Regions from separate parts of the Homo sapiens genome. Here regions 1 and 2 are each linked to region 3. Evidence: promoter capture Hi-C in 16 types of primary human blood cells and fetal thymus (Javierre and others, 2016). All regions are on one chromosome and are shown on one strand. Each heading gives the region's core, a stretch centred on a gene start or on the middle of the fragment in contact. The rest is flanking DNA. Distances are from core to core; before and after follow the strand shown.

What was found. The method cuts DNA at HindIII sites, captures the fragments that hold promoters and counts their contacts. A CHiCAGO score of 5 or more calls a contact.
Region 1: a contact is called between a fragment that was not itself captured here and the fragment with the promoter of CHRNA9 in region 3, in 1 of 17 cell types (M1 macrophages). The highest score is 5.8, in M1 macrophages.
Region 2: the fragment with the promoter of N4BP2 here is called in contact with the fragment with the promoter of CHRNA9 in region 3 in 6 of 17 cell types (naive CD8 T cells, naive CD4 T cells, total CD8 T cells and 3 more); the score reaches 7.5 in naive CD8 T cells.

Annotation. Positions count from the first base shown.
Region 1 is chr4:40,024,702-40,028,668 of GRCh38, forward strand. No RefSeq gene overlaps it. Among named protein-coding and RNA genes, the nearest start is that of N4BP2, 30 kb to the right of the region's middle. The HindIII fragment of the contact is 1,108 bases long and covers 2,143-3,250 here.
Region 2 is chr4:40,055,600-40,059,628 of GRCh38, forward strand. N4BP2 (NEDD4 binding protein 2) reads left to right here and starts at 1,251. Exons shown (of 18, transcript NM_018177.6): 1 at 1,251-1,431. It also overlaps the pseudogene LOC344967. RefSeq lists silencers at 463-672, 1,013-1,472, 1,523-1,872 and enhancers at 2,063-2,112, 2,213-2,312. The HindIII fragment of the contact is 12,311 bases long and covers 1-4,029 here.
Region 3 is chr4:40,333,484-40,337,826 of GRCh38, forward strand. CHRNA9 (cholinergic receptor nicotinic alpha 9 subunit) reads left to right here and starts at 1,850. Exons shown (of 5, transcript NM_017581.4): 1 at 1,850-2,048; 2 at 2,344-2,489; 3 at 3,727-3,881. The coding sequence starts at 1,985. The HindIII fragment of the contact is 7,151 bases long and covers 1-2,227 here.

The sequences.
Region 1 (3,967 bases), core at 1,447-3,946, 310 kb before region 3:
GTGAGGTCGAGAAGGGTGTATCTCCTGAGGTCAGGAGTTTGAGACCAGCCTGGCCAACATGGTGAAACCCCATCTCTACTAAAAATACAAAAATTAGCTGGGTGTGGTTGTGGGCACCTGTATTTATTTGATAAATAATATCAAATGAAATGAACAAGGATGATTACTGCAGTAGTGTTTGTGGAAAAACTGACTATACCCCAGGACAGCAAAAGATAAATGCAAGGGCCAGTGCGGTGGCTCACACCTATAATCCCAACACTTTGGGAGGCCAAGGTTGGTGGATCACTTGAGGTCAGGAATTTGAGACCAGCCCGGCCAACATAGTGAAATCCCATCTCTACTAAAAATTCAAAAAAAATTAGCCAGGTGTGGTGGCACACGCCTGTAATTCCAGCTTCTCTGGAGGCTGAGGCAGAAGAATTACTTGAACCTGGGAGGCAGAGGTTGCAGTGATTCGAGATCGCGCCATTGCATTCCAGCCCGTGTGACAGAGCGAGACTCCATCTCAAAAAACAAAACTAAACATAAATGCACTGTAACTTTGTCATACAAGGGAATATGAAAAGTAGTCAAATGGACTAAAGTTACCTATACAAACATGGAAAAATGTAAAAATTACCTCAAAATGGATTATAGATTTAGATGTGAAATGTAAAACTATAAGCTTTTAGAAGAAAACATAGGAGAAAATCTTCAAGACCTGTGCCTTGTTGAGGAATTCTTAGATGTGACACCAAAAGCACAATCCATAAAAAAACTGATAAATTGGACTTCATCAAAATTAAAAACTTTTGTTGTGATTTACCAATCACATATCTGATAAAGGACTCATATCTAGACTATACGAAGAATTTTCAACTCAACAGTAAATAAACAAAAACAAAACCAATTAGAAAATGAGTAAAACCCAGCCAGGCATGGTGGCTCACACTGGTAATCCCAGCACTTTGGGAGGCCAAGGTAGGAGGATTCCTTGATCCCAGGAGTTTGAGACCAGCCTAGACAACATTAATGAGACCCTCACCTCTACAAAAAATTAAAAAATTTAGCCAGGTGTAGTGACACACAACTGTAGTCCCAGCTTGGAAGGTTGAGGTGGGAGGATCACTTTAGCCCAGGAGGTTGAGGCTGCAGTTAACTGTGATCGTGCCACTGCACTCCAGCCTGGGTAACAGAGCAAGACTTTGTCTCAAAAAAATTAAAAAATTGGCCAGGCACAGTGACTCATACCTGTAATCCCTGCATTTTGGGAGGCTGAGGCGGGCAGATCACTGGAGGTCAGGAGTTCAAGACCAGCCTGTCCAACATGGTGAAAGCCTGTCTCTGCTAAAAATACAAAAATTGCCGGGCATGGTGGTGCTTGCCTGTAATCCCAGCTACTTGGGAGGCTGAGGCAGGAGAATTGCTTGAACCTGAGAGATGGAGGTTGCAGTGAGTTGAGATCGTGCCACTGCACTCTAACCTGGGTGACAGAGTGAGACTCTGTTTCAAAAAAGAAAAAAAGAAAGAAGAAAGGAGGACTCCAGGAGAGAATGAAAGTTGTGTTATGGTTGTCGGAAACTAAAACTAAATGCCCTGTAGAATTATCAATCATGTAAATCCAGAAACAGGCAATCCAGCTCATTTTGAGGAAATTACATAACTGGAATCAGGCCTTATGTATCCCTTTGAGACTGGCTTTTTCAGGCTGCATAATGCCCTAGAAAGCCACCTAAGTTTTTGCATGTATCAATAGGTTGTTCTTTTTTAATGCTGGGTATTCCATGGTATGGATGTACCACAGTCTATTTAACCATTCACCATTTTTTTAAAAACTATTTATTTATTTTATTTTGAGATGGAGTCTCGCTCTGTCACCCAGGCTGGAATGCAGTGGCACGATCTCGGCTCACTGCAACTTCTGCCTCCCAGGTTCAAGCGACTCTCCCACCTTAGCCTTCTGAGTAGCTGGGATTACAGGCGTGCGCCACCACACTCAGCTAATTTTTGTATTTTTAGTAGAGACAGAGTTTCACCATGTTGGCCAGGCTGGTCTCAAACTCTTGACCTCAAGTGATCCACCTGCCTTGGCTTCCCAAAGTGCTGGGATTACAGATGTGAACCACCATGCCCTGCTCGGTCTCTGTCTTTACTGTTGAAAGCTTTCCTCAAAGGTCTGATGATCCTTGAATATTTGGTCAGATTTTTAACTGAACCACTGCATAGCTGACTGGAAGCTCTGTGTGAGTGGGCAGGTCTTGTCAACTTGTGAGCTTATTTTTAGATTCCCTAGGTAGTCAGCCAGCTTTTGTGTTCAGGTATGTGTGTGGTACCCCAAATGACAGTATGTGTAGGTATTTTCTCTGTAGCAATTTACTTTATCTGGAGAAAAACTAATTTTCTGCTTGGCTATTGGCTTTGTAGCACTGGACTGAGGAATCTCACAGTTCAATATGTAGACCTTTTTTTGTTAAAAAAAAAAAAAGCAAGTACTACTAAACTAATCTTCTGCCTGGCTATTGGCTCTGTAGCACTGGACTGAGGAATTTCACAGTTCAATATGTAGACTTTTTTCCTTATTTTTTTTTCTGAGATGGAGTCTTGTCTGTCGCCCAGGCTGGAGTGCAGTGGCACGATCTTGGCTCACTGCAACCTCCGCCTCCTGGGTTCAAGCGATTCTCCTGCCTCAGCCTCCTGAGTAGCTGGGATTACAGGTGCACACCACCATGCCTGTCTAATAAAAATTAGACATTTTTAGTAGAGACGAGGTTTTACCATGTTGGTCAGGCTTGTGTTGAACTCCTGACCTTGTGATCCGCCCACCTTGGCCTCTATGCCTGGATGCCCTTTTTTTGTTAAAAAAAAAAAAAAAGAAAAAGAAAACAAAGCAAGTACTCTGGAAACTCTGTAGACTTTTTTTTTTTTTTTTTGAGATGGAGTCTCACTCTGTTGCCCAGGCTGCAGTACAGTGGCATGATCTCAGCTGACTGCAACCTCTTGCCTCCTGGGTTCAAGCAATTCTCCTGTCTTAGCCTCCTGAGTAGCTGAGATTACAGGCACCGGCCACCATGCCTGCTAAATTTTTTGTATTTTTAGTAGAGACAAGGTTTTACTATGTTGCCCTGGCTGGTCTCGAGCTCCTGACCTCAAGTGATCTGCCTGCCTTGGCCTCCCAAACTGCTGGGATTACAGCCGTGAGCCACCATACCCGGCCTGTAGACTTTCACGGAATTCTCACCCGATCTCTCTTCCTTCCTGCTGCTCCCTAAGCTTCTCAGATTGTTTCTCCCCAGAAAAAGTACTTGTGGGAGTGGGGAAGGGGTGGCTGCCTGACTGATGGGAGTGAGGGAAGGCTTCTAGGGCTGCTTTTCAGTCTTCAGACACCCCTCACTGTCTTCAGTGTCCTGTTCCTATTACTGCCTTCCAAAGTACCAGGCTTCAGTCCTTGAGTTGTCTTGCTTTTTGTGGGTCTTCTCCAACAAAGCTTGGCCTTCCTCTGCTCTGCTAATTTAGTCACCATTCCTCCATCTGCTTTTTGTTTTCAAGTGCTGTGAGTTTGCGGGGATAAATGTTTCCTAGTTTTATTGAAGATAGCGTTTGTGTTTCTGTTTCTTGTTCTGATTCTGTATTGGGGAAATTAAAAAAAAAAGTCTAGAAAGGTCAATGCTCAGCCATCTAAATCCTGGAAGCTGTGGAGGTGACTTCTAGCAATTCCCTCCATCATTCCTGTCCAAACATATTTCAAAAAAAATACAAAGAGTGTTCTGAAAGCAGTTCTGTCTGCCCATACTCTTTGCTCAGTGGCAGTGCCAAGTAGTGCTGTGCCTAACCATATTGGAGCCTGAGGCAAAAGAAAAAATTAGTAGCACTGATCTAATTTTTATTTAACATTTCAATATTTTGTTCATTATGGGGTTTTGCTGCACCTATTTTGACTTTTAAAAATATTGCACTGGCCAGGCGTGGTGGCTCACGCCTGTAATCC
Region 2 (4,029 bases), core at 1-2,500, 280 kb before region 3:
CACTTTGTCATGAGGTTATTTCGCTTCTCTATTCTGGGAAAAACCACTGCAAGTGGAATGAAAAGTAACCGCAAAGGGAGGGGACGGAGGAAGTAAAAAACAGGCAAAACCACCACCACTACCATCACCACCACCACCACCAACCAGAAAGCAAAGGTGAAAAATTTGCGTACCCTGAAAACACTAAACATTTCACATCAGAACCCAGAACAAATAAACCAGGGAAAGCAGAGTTGAGAGAAAAAAAATGGTGCAGGCTTGGGGACGGACTCATACTACAGCGGTCGCAAGAGGGAAGAGCACGTCTTTGCTTTTTCTTGGCATCCGAAAACTCAAGCTCGAACTGGGGGCAAAGGCCAGCGGCTGCGGTTCCACCGGCTAAGGCGCACACATTCCCCGAGCTCAGACCGCACGCTGGCAGGGCCGATGGGGCTGGGCAGCCTCCCTCCACCCCGTGGCAGTCGCCTACCCCTTTGTCTCCCCGTGGGGCTCCGAGGCCGCGCGCCCGGAAGCCCCCCGCGGGAGGGCCGCGCGCGAGAAGGCGGGTTCCCGTGCCCGCCGCAGCGGCCACGGCCCTAGTCAGGCAATGCCGAGGCCGGTCGCTCGCCTCGCCGTCCCTCCCAACTTGCAGCCTGGACCCCGCGCGCGTCAGGGCTCGTCCCAGCTCTGCTTTCCTTTCTCCCCTCACCTCGCGAGGCCGACCTTGTGTTTGTTTTGTTTTTTGGGGCTCGGGAGAGTGCCGAGGGCTAGAAACAGCTGTGGTTTACCGCGCCGCTTATTTTGGCAAAAATTCCGGGCCTGTTGCAATGTTCCCCAGCGCCAAACAGCTCCCGCCTTCCCCCCAAGCAGAACCCGACACTCGAAGAAGGGCTTGCTCCTCCAGGGACCCCCTGATAAGAAAAGTGGGGACCACGGCCCGCTCTCGGGCGAGACTTGGGGGGTGGGCGACCGGAAGCAGCCGAACCGGCCGGGCAGGGCTTGCTCTCCAACGGGAGAGCGGGAGCGGGAGAGGTGGGAGCGCCCGCGGGCTCAAGTCCCCCGGGCCGCCGCGCCGAGGCGGAGCTCGGGGACGAAGCAGAGGTCGTGGCGGACAGCCGGCGGGCTTGGGGGGGGGCGGTGGGCGGCGATCCACCTGGGCGACGTGGCAGCCATTGCCGGCGCCTCGAGACCCCTCCCCACCCGGCCGCCCACCCGCCCTCTCGCGGCGGGCTTCTGCGCGGCTGCTCTTCCCCGGCCGGACGGAGAGCGGCAGTGTCTCCCCGCCGGGCGCGCTCGCCGTGTCTCCCCCGCGGCCGCAGCTGCTTGCTAGCCTTGCGCGGCGCGGGAGAGCGCAGTGGCGCCGGCGGGAAAGGGCTGCGGACCTGCGGCGCCGCGTTGTGCGTTCGACGACGCGGCACCGGCTTCGACGCCCTCTGCCCGCTCCAGAAGCAGGTAAAGGCGGCGGGTGGGAGGCAGGGAGGCGGGTCCAAGGTGAGGGCCCTGGAGGTTAGGGGTCCCGGGGCTCCGAGCCGAAGCGGAGGGCCTGAAGCAGCGGCGGGCGGCGCGGCGAATGAACCCCCAAGCCCTGAATGTGGGGCCCGGCGCGGGCCGCCTCCGATCTGACCCGCGGGCCCGGCTGCCCGGACGGAAGGGAAGTGAGGCGTCGGCGAGAGGCGGGCCCTGGCGCTCAGCCCGAGGCCGGGCGAAGGCGGGGGCCGCGGCCGCTTCCTTGGCCTCCGAGTGCCTGGCGGGCCTCCAGGCCCCAGACACACCCCTCTCGACCCCCCGAGGTTTCCTCCCAGATCTGTTCCCGCCGGGACCTGACCTTGCGCCCCTCCAGGCGCCTTAGGTGTTTGCCAGGCGGAGCCTTCTGGGAACTTCAGGCCACCTTCCTGAGCACATAGTCCTAGCAGAGCCGTTTATTTACTCAGTTCAAGTCCAGACACACAGCCACTCACACGTTCGGATTTTGGAGACTGCGGGGAGACTTTCCCCTCCCCGGCATTTGTGTGTCTTTGGCCCTCGTCCCGCCTCCCCTGCCCCCATCTGCAACTTTGTCCCTCAATGGGACCCTTCTAGAGCCCCTCTCTCATCGGGACTCTCTCTAAGCCGTCCGTTTGGAAATTCATCCTCAATAGAGTGAGTCATCTTAGCGGGGGCACAGTTTATCTCTCATGCGCTTTTGGTTAAAATAGTTTTTTTTTTCCCTCCGAAAGAGAGCTAGAGTAATAGAATGTAGATGACAGGTCAGTGTCAGTGTTGGCTTCAAAGGCTCTTCCTTTCGGCGGCAGTCTTTGTAACTAGGATCTGATATTTGTGGCACGGACAGGTTTGTACACATTCTCGCCATGCAGTGGTTGTAATGTCTCCATGGCACAGTTCTGGCTTGAAGGCAGGATTGGCTGCTTTTTCTACTCGACATCTTTGAGCCAATCAGCAAGGGCTGCTTGCCTGGAGACTGGTTAACTCAGTAAAGGTGGCCATTGGTTGAGCTCCTAGAAGAAAATCCTGGAGATGAACCTAGCCTCTCAGAAAACAATGACTGATTTGCAGCTGTATTAAAAAAATGTTTTCTTTTAATCCCAACATCAGCCTTTTCACTCCGTTTTTATTACTTCCAGTGTTTTTCTTTCAAACACCAGCTGTCTTTTGTAACTCGTTTTAACTCTCATCCTTTAATTTTAACTAAAAGACGCGCTTTAGGAAATGTAAACATCGTGTGTTCTGTGTTTTGATAAACGTGGTTCCATCTGCCTTTCTAACATTGTTTACTGCTAAAGGTCAGAAATAAACAGTTTTGAGTTTCGCTGCCAGGACCTTTTATTATTTAAGTGCCGTGCTAGGATGGGGGGTAGGAGCGAGGGGCTGTAGTGGTGGACATGGTGGGAAGAATAGGAAATAAATGGCTGCTCTTTTGCAAGGAGGCTACAATTTAGTTAATGAAAAAAGACTAACCTGTAAAACAATAAAGAATAAAGCAGTTGAAATCAGCACGCAGTACGTACGAATGCCAGTTTGTGTACTTGTTGACTTTAGTTAATTTGAAGGGGAGATAGAAGTACTGTATTTCATAGAAAAAGTGGGCTTAAGTTATGGTAGAGGCATGTTTTTTCCTTCATTAAAGTATATTAAAGTAGGCATAGTATCTTGTATGTACACAGTAGAAGCTAAATATTATCACTAGTTGCATGTTTTTTTTTTAGTATTTATTTTAAATCTAAATACTGTTACATAGTTGCATCTTATTTATTTATTTTTTTGAGACAAGGTCTGGCCGTATCGCCAAGGCTGGAGTGCAGTGGCACTATCTCAGCTCACTGCAACGTCTGCCTCCTGGGCTCAAGCCATCCTCCCACCTCGTCCCCTAGAGTAGCTGGGACTAGAGGCGAAAGCCACTACGCCCGGCTAATTTTTGTATTTTTTGTAGAGAGGAGGTTTCGCCATGTTGCCCAGGCTGGTCTCAAACCCCTGAGCTCAAGCAATCCAACTGCCTCCGCCTCCCAAAGTGCTGGGATTACAGGAGTGACCACCACGCCCGCCCGGCCGTTTTAAAACGCTGATTATTTTCCTTTTAAAATCTCCCTTTTCATCATGATTAGCCATGATTATGCATGTTTTTTGATATGCAAAGCAGCAACCATTTATTAGTTAATGAATTTCAGAAAAATAGCTATCTACCTTCTTTGCTTTCCTTTCAGCTTTTTATATGCAAAATCATATTGTAAGTCTTGGGAAGAATCAGTTGTCTATTAAATGCCTTTAGAAGTAGTTTATGTTAGGAATTTAAGAAGAGATTGAGCATTTTTTATGTATGTATGTATGTATGTATTTTGAGACAGAGCCTCACTCTGTCGCCCAGGCTGGAGTGCAGTGGCGCTATCTTGTCTCAGCCTCTGGAGTAGCTGGGATTACAGGTGCTCAACACCACACCTGGCTAACTTCTGTATTTTTAGTAGGGATGGGTTTTTGTCATGTTGGTGAGGCTGGTCTGTAACTCCTGGCCTCAAGTGATCCGCCCGCTTTGGCCTCCCAAAGTGCTAGGATTACAGA
Region 3 (4,343 bases), core at 600-3,099:
ACAGGACTCTATTCTAAGGAATGGGAGCACTGCCATCATCCTCCTGGAATGGAGTCAGGGATGCCCCCCAGGACACTGGACCCCAATGGGCAAAGGTTCTCAGCAGCTTCAACCTAAAAGAGGCCCCTGAGGGGAGAAGGGACCCTGAAGGGAGGGGAGTGGTATAGGAAGGGAAGGGACACCATTCAAGGTAGGCCCTGTGTCAACTACAATTCAACCCTGTGAGTGCTGTAAGGAATCCAAGACATATGAGGTAAAGATCCTCTACACACAAGGAAGTCACCACCCAGCTGGCATCAAAAGCCATATTGATGAAAGACAACGAGAAGGAAGAGATGCATTGTTAGTGTTGCAGGGAGCACAGTGGATTGGGGCAGGTGGCCTGGATCCTGTCTCTGGCCGATCACTGCTGGAGGGAAGCCACTCTGCATCCCTGGGCCTCAGTTTCCTCATATAGAAGTGAGGCATTAAACTCAATTTCAAAATTACCTTCTGCCTCTGAGATTCTGGAGCGGATGGTTTGCTGAAGGAGGACTGAGCGTGGGCACCCGGAATTGTGTCATTTGATGAATGAGTCAGACTAGGGGCGTCAGAAAAATAATGTCTTCACAATCAACACAATGGGATAGGCAATTAAGAAACACTTTGCCGATGGCTTGAGTGTCTGTTCCACTCAGAGGATACATTCCCGAAGAGGGATGGGGTGACTCATCAGGCGGCTGTAACCTGATGAAACAGAGCTATCCAATTTCCTCGCTCCAATTCCAGGCAACCAAATTATCTTAATATGGTTTTCCAAAGCAGTTTCCCCAGGCAAGAGGAGAGACAGACATGAGTTTCCAGACTAAGCAGCAATTGAAAATTGACATTTTTTTATAGGAGTAAAATTATATCACATATGAGAAATGACTGAAACTTTATATGAAGTAGCATTCAAATGCAAAGGGTGTCATCATTAGCAATATCACCATTGGTTATTATTCTCATGCTGATTTGGTCAGCCTTTGAACCAGTTTTTCTTTTTTTTTTTCGAGCTGGTAAATCCTGGGTGACTTGGTGAGTATAGAAATTCTGGGTATGCAAAGCTGATCAAAGATGATAATTACTGATATTTAGAAAGTGCTTTCACATACAGTTATCTCAGTAGCTCTAGAGAGAGAAAATATTATTTTCCCCAGTCTGTAGTTCTGGAAGGCTCAGAGAGGTTAGGTGACTTTTACAGAATAATAGAGCTCGTCAGGGTTTGGCTGGCAGTCAAACCCAGGTGGTCAAGTCCAAATCCAACTCACAGTGTTGCTGCTTCTTAAGCGAGTGATTATCCGCCCATCCAGCACACCCCCTCACATATATACTCACAAACATTTACTATGCAAGATCCATGCCCAGTGGGACAGCTGCAGGAGGGATCAGAAGCTGAGGCAGAGAAAAAACCAAAATGCCAATATATTCTGGAGATCATAGAACCGTGTCTCTTTCCCTCTTCAAATGCTGCTAAAAGCACGTAGAGTCTTTCTGGACAGCCGTCCCATGGCTCAGTCTTTTAGGCTTCCCTTAGTCCCTGGACTCAGGCTGACTCTGCTCATGGTGGGTGTAGAAATCTCCCATTCTGCTTAGATGGAGTCTCTGGGGTGTCAGGCATACCCCTGTTGCCTGCATCTACCTCCTTTTCTGTCTGGTTGTTTCTGCTGAGGGTGGCTAGGGACCCTCAACTGAGATGGCCCCCCACAACAGCACTGTTGGACCTAACACACCCTGGGTTCCCGGCTTCTCAGCCACTGGAGCTGCCAGTCTCAAATTACCGGAGGGGAGGGAGGGCAGGCCTGGATCTCAGGATCTCGGTCCTGCATGCAATGCAAGCCTGAGCTCTCCCGCCATAAGGCTGCAGCGGTGTGGGCTCCTTGTGCCCAGATCCTTTGTATTCATAGGGGGAAGTGGAAGACCACGCTGCCTGACTGAGACTTTATTATAGAGGCTCAGGAAAAAGATGAACTGGTCCCATTCCTGCATCTCCTTTTGCTGGATCTACTTTGCTGCTTCCAGACTGAGAGGTGAGAGGCTGGTGACACGTAACCTATCTTGTCTCATCTGGGGCTATTGCTTTGGTGGGAGGTGGGGCAGGACAGGGAAGACAAAACAGATGATTCAACCGCATGGAAGTGTTCTGTGCTTCCTACTGACTCTGATCTTGGTAGGGCATGCCAGAAAAACAACTCATCCATCCACCCAAAGCTTGTCCCTCGCCAGTGTTGGGCCATCCCCCATTTTAGACCTCAGTCTTGTGTTGTTTGTCTTGAAATACACACAACACTCTGAATGTTAATCCAGATCCCTCTTGTTGAGTAGCTGCAGAGACGGCAGATGGAAAATATGCTCAGAAGTTGTTTAATGACCTTTTTGAAGATTATTCTAATGCTCTTCGTCCAGTGGAAGATACAGATAAAGTCCTGAATGTGACCCTGCAGATTACGCTCTCTCAGATTAAGGATATGGTGAGTAACACATGGTGCTGACTCTGTGGAATGATTCTTAGAGGATAAACAACCATGCTTTCTGAAGAGAATGTCTTAACTGGGAATTTGAGAGGGAATGATAGCTCCTTAAGCAAGCTGGTGGGAGAAGAGAATGTCGGGAAAAGGAAGCTTTCTACAAAACTAATTAATTTCAAGAAACGTTACCTAATCCTGGTCATTAACTGTAACAGTCTTAGATAATCTAAAGAAAGATGGGGTTACATACTGTATGCAGCCATTTATATAAAATGTCCAAAAGAGGTAAATCCGTAGAGACAGAAAACGGCATAGAGGTTGCCGGGGTCTGTGGGGAGGACGGGGAAAACGGCCAGTGAGTTCTTAATGATTACGGCGTTTCTTTGCGGGGGGAAGAAATGATCTTGAATTAGGCAGTGGTGATGGTTGCACAACGTTGTGAATATATTGGAAGCCGGTGCATTGTTCCCTTCGAAAATGATTAAAATGGTGAGTTTTAATGTGAATTTGATCTTAATTTTTTTTTTGAGACGGAGTCTTGCTGTCACCCAGGCTGGAGTGCAGTGGCATGATCTCCGCTCACTGTAAGCTCTGCCTCCTGGGTTCACACCATTCTCCTGCCTCAGCCTCCTGAGTAGCTGAGACTACAGGCACCCGCCACCACACCCGGCTAATTTTTTTTTTGTATTTTTAGTAGAGACAGGGTTTTACCGTGTTAGTCAGGATGGTCTCAATCTCCTGACCTCATGATTCGCCCGCCTCGGCCTCCCAAAGTGCTGGGATTACAGGCATGAGCCACCGCGCCCGGCCAATCTCAATTTTTTAAAAAAGGTAGTGTTTTAAGATGGCATAGCTTATTAGTGCTTATCTATGTTTAATTACACAATGTTATGAAACTTGAAAGATTTTCCTTCTGCACATTGTTATTTCCTGACTTTTGCTTTCAAGTACATCATTCATTGATCAATTTTCAGGAAATATAGGCAGTTGATCTATGCAAAGATATCAATACTAAAATATTTGTCCACTTTACATTCTGAACACTAAATCTAGGAGGAAAAAAAATATGATCTTGGCAGTCAATCAAGGGGATAGAATAAATAAAGAATAAAGCTCTCACTTTACTTATTGAAATTTGATGAGTGTTTGTGAAATTCCTATTGTGAAGAACAAGTGTCCTATCAGTGGAAAACATTTCAAGTGTCTGCTAGGTAAAGCGACATCTGGATTCATTGTGTAGGATGAAAGAAACCAAATTCTGACTGCTTATTTGTGGATCCGCCAAATCTGGCACGATGCCTATCTCACGTGGGACCGAGATCAGTACGATGGCCTAGACTCCATCAGGATCCCCAGTGACCTCGTGTGGAGGCCAGACATCGTCTTATATAACAAGTAAGTGCAGCTCAGAACTGAGGCTTTTCAGGCATGAACGTGTTGATTTCATAGAATTTAAACATAATGAAAAAGGAATGTTTAAAACATGCATGAAATTAAATATTAATCCATGTTCCTAGGACTTACTGAAATAAGAGACATAGAATCTTAGATCAGGAAATAATATGTCATAAAAGCTTAGAGCTGGAAAGAAACCATCCATCTACATGCCCCTTTTTCAGGTGGGAAAGTGGAGGCTGCATTAGTTTGCTAGGGCTAACTTTGCCATAACAGAGTAGCACAGATTAGATGACTTAACAAAAATGTGTTATCTCACAGTTCTGGAGTTGAGATGCCTGAGATGAAGGGGTTGACAGCGTGGTTTCCTCTGAGGGCTGTGAGGGAGGATCTGTACCAGGCCTCTCTTCTAGCTAATGGTGGTTTGCTGGCAGTCTTTGGTGTTCTTGGCATTATAGAAGC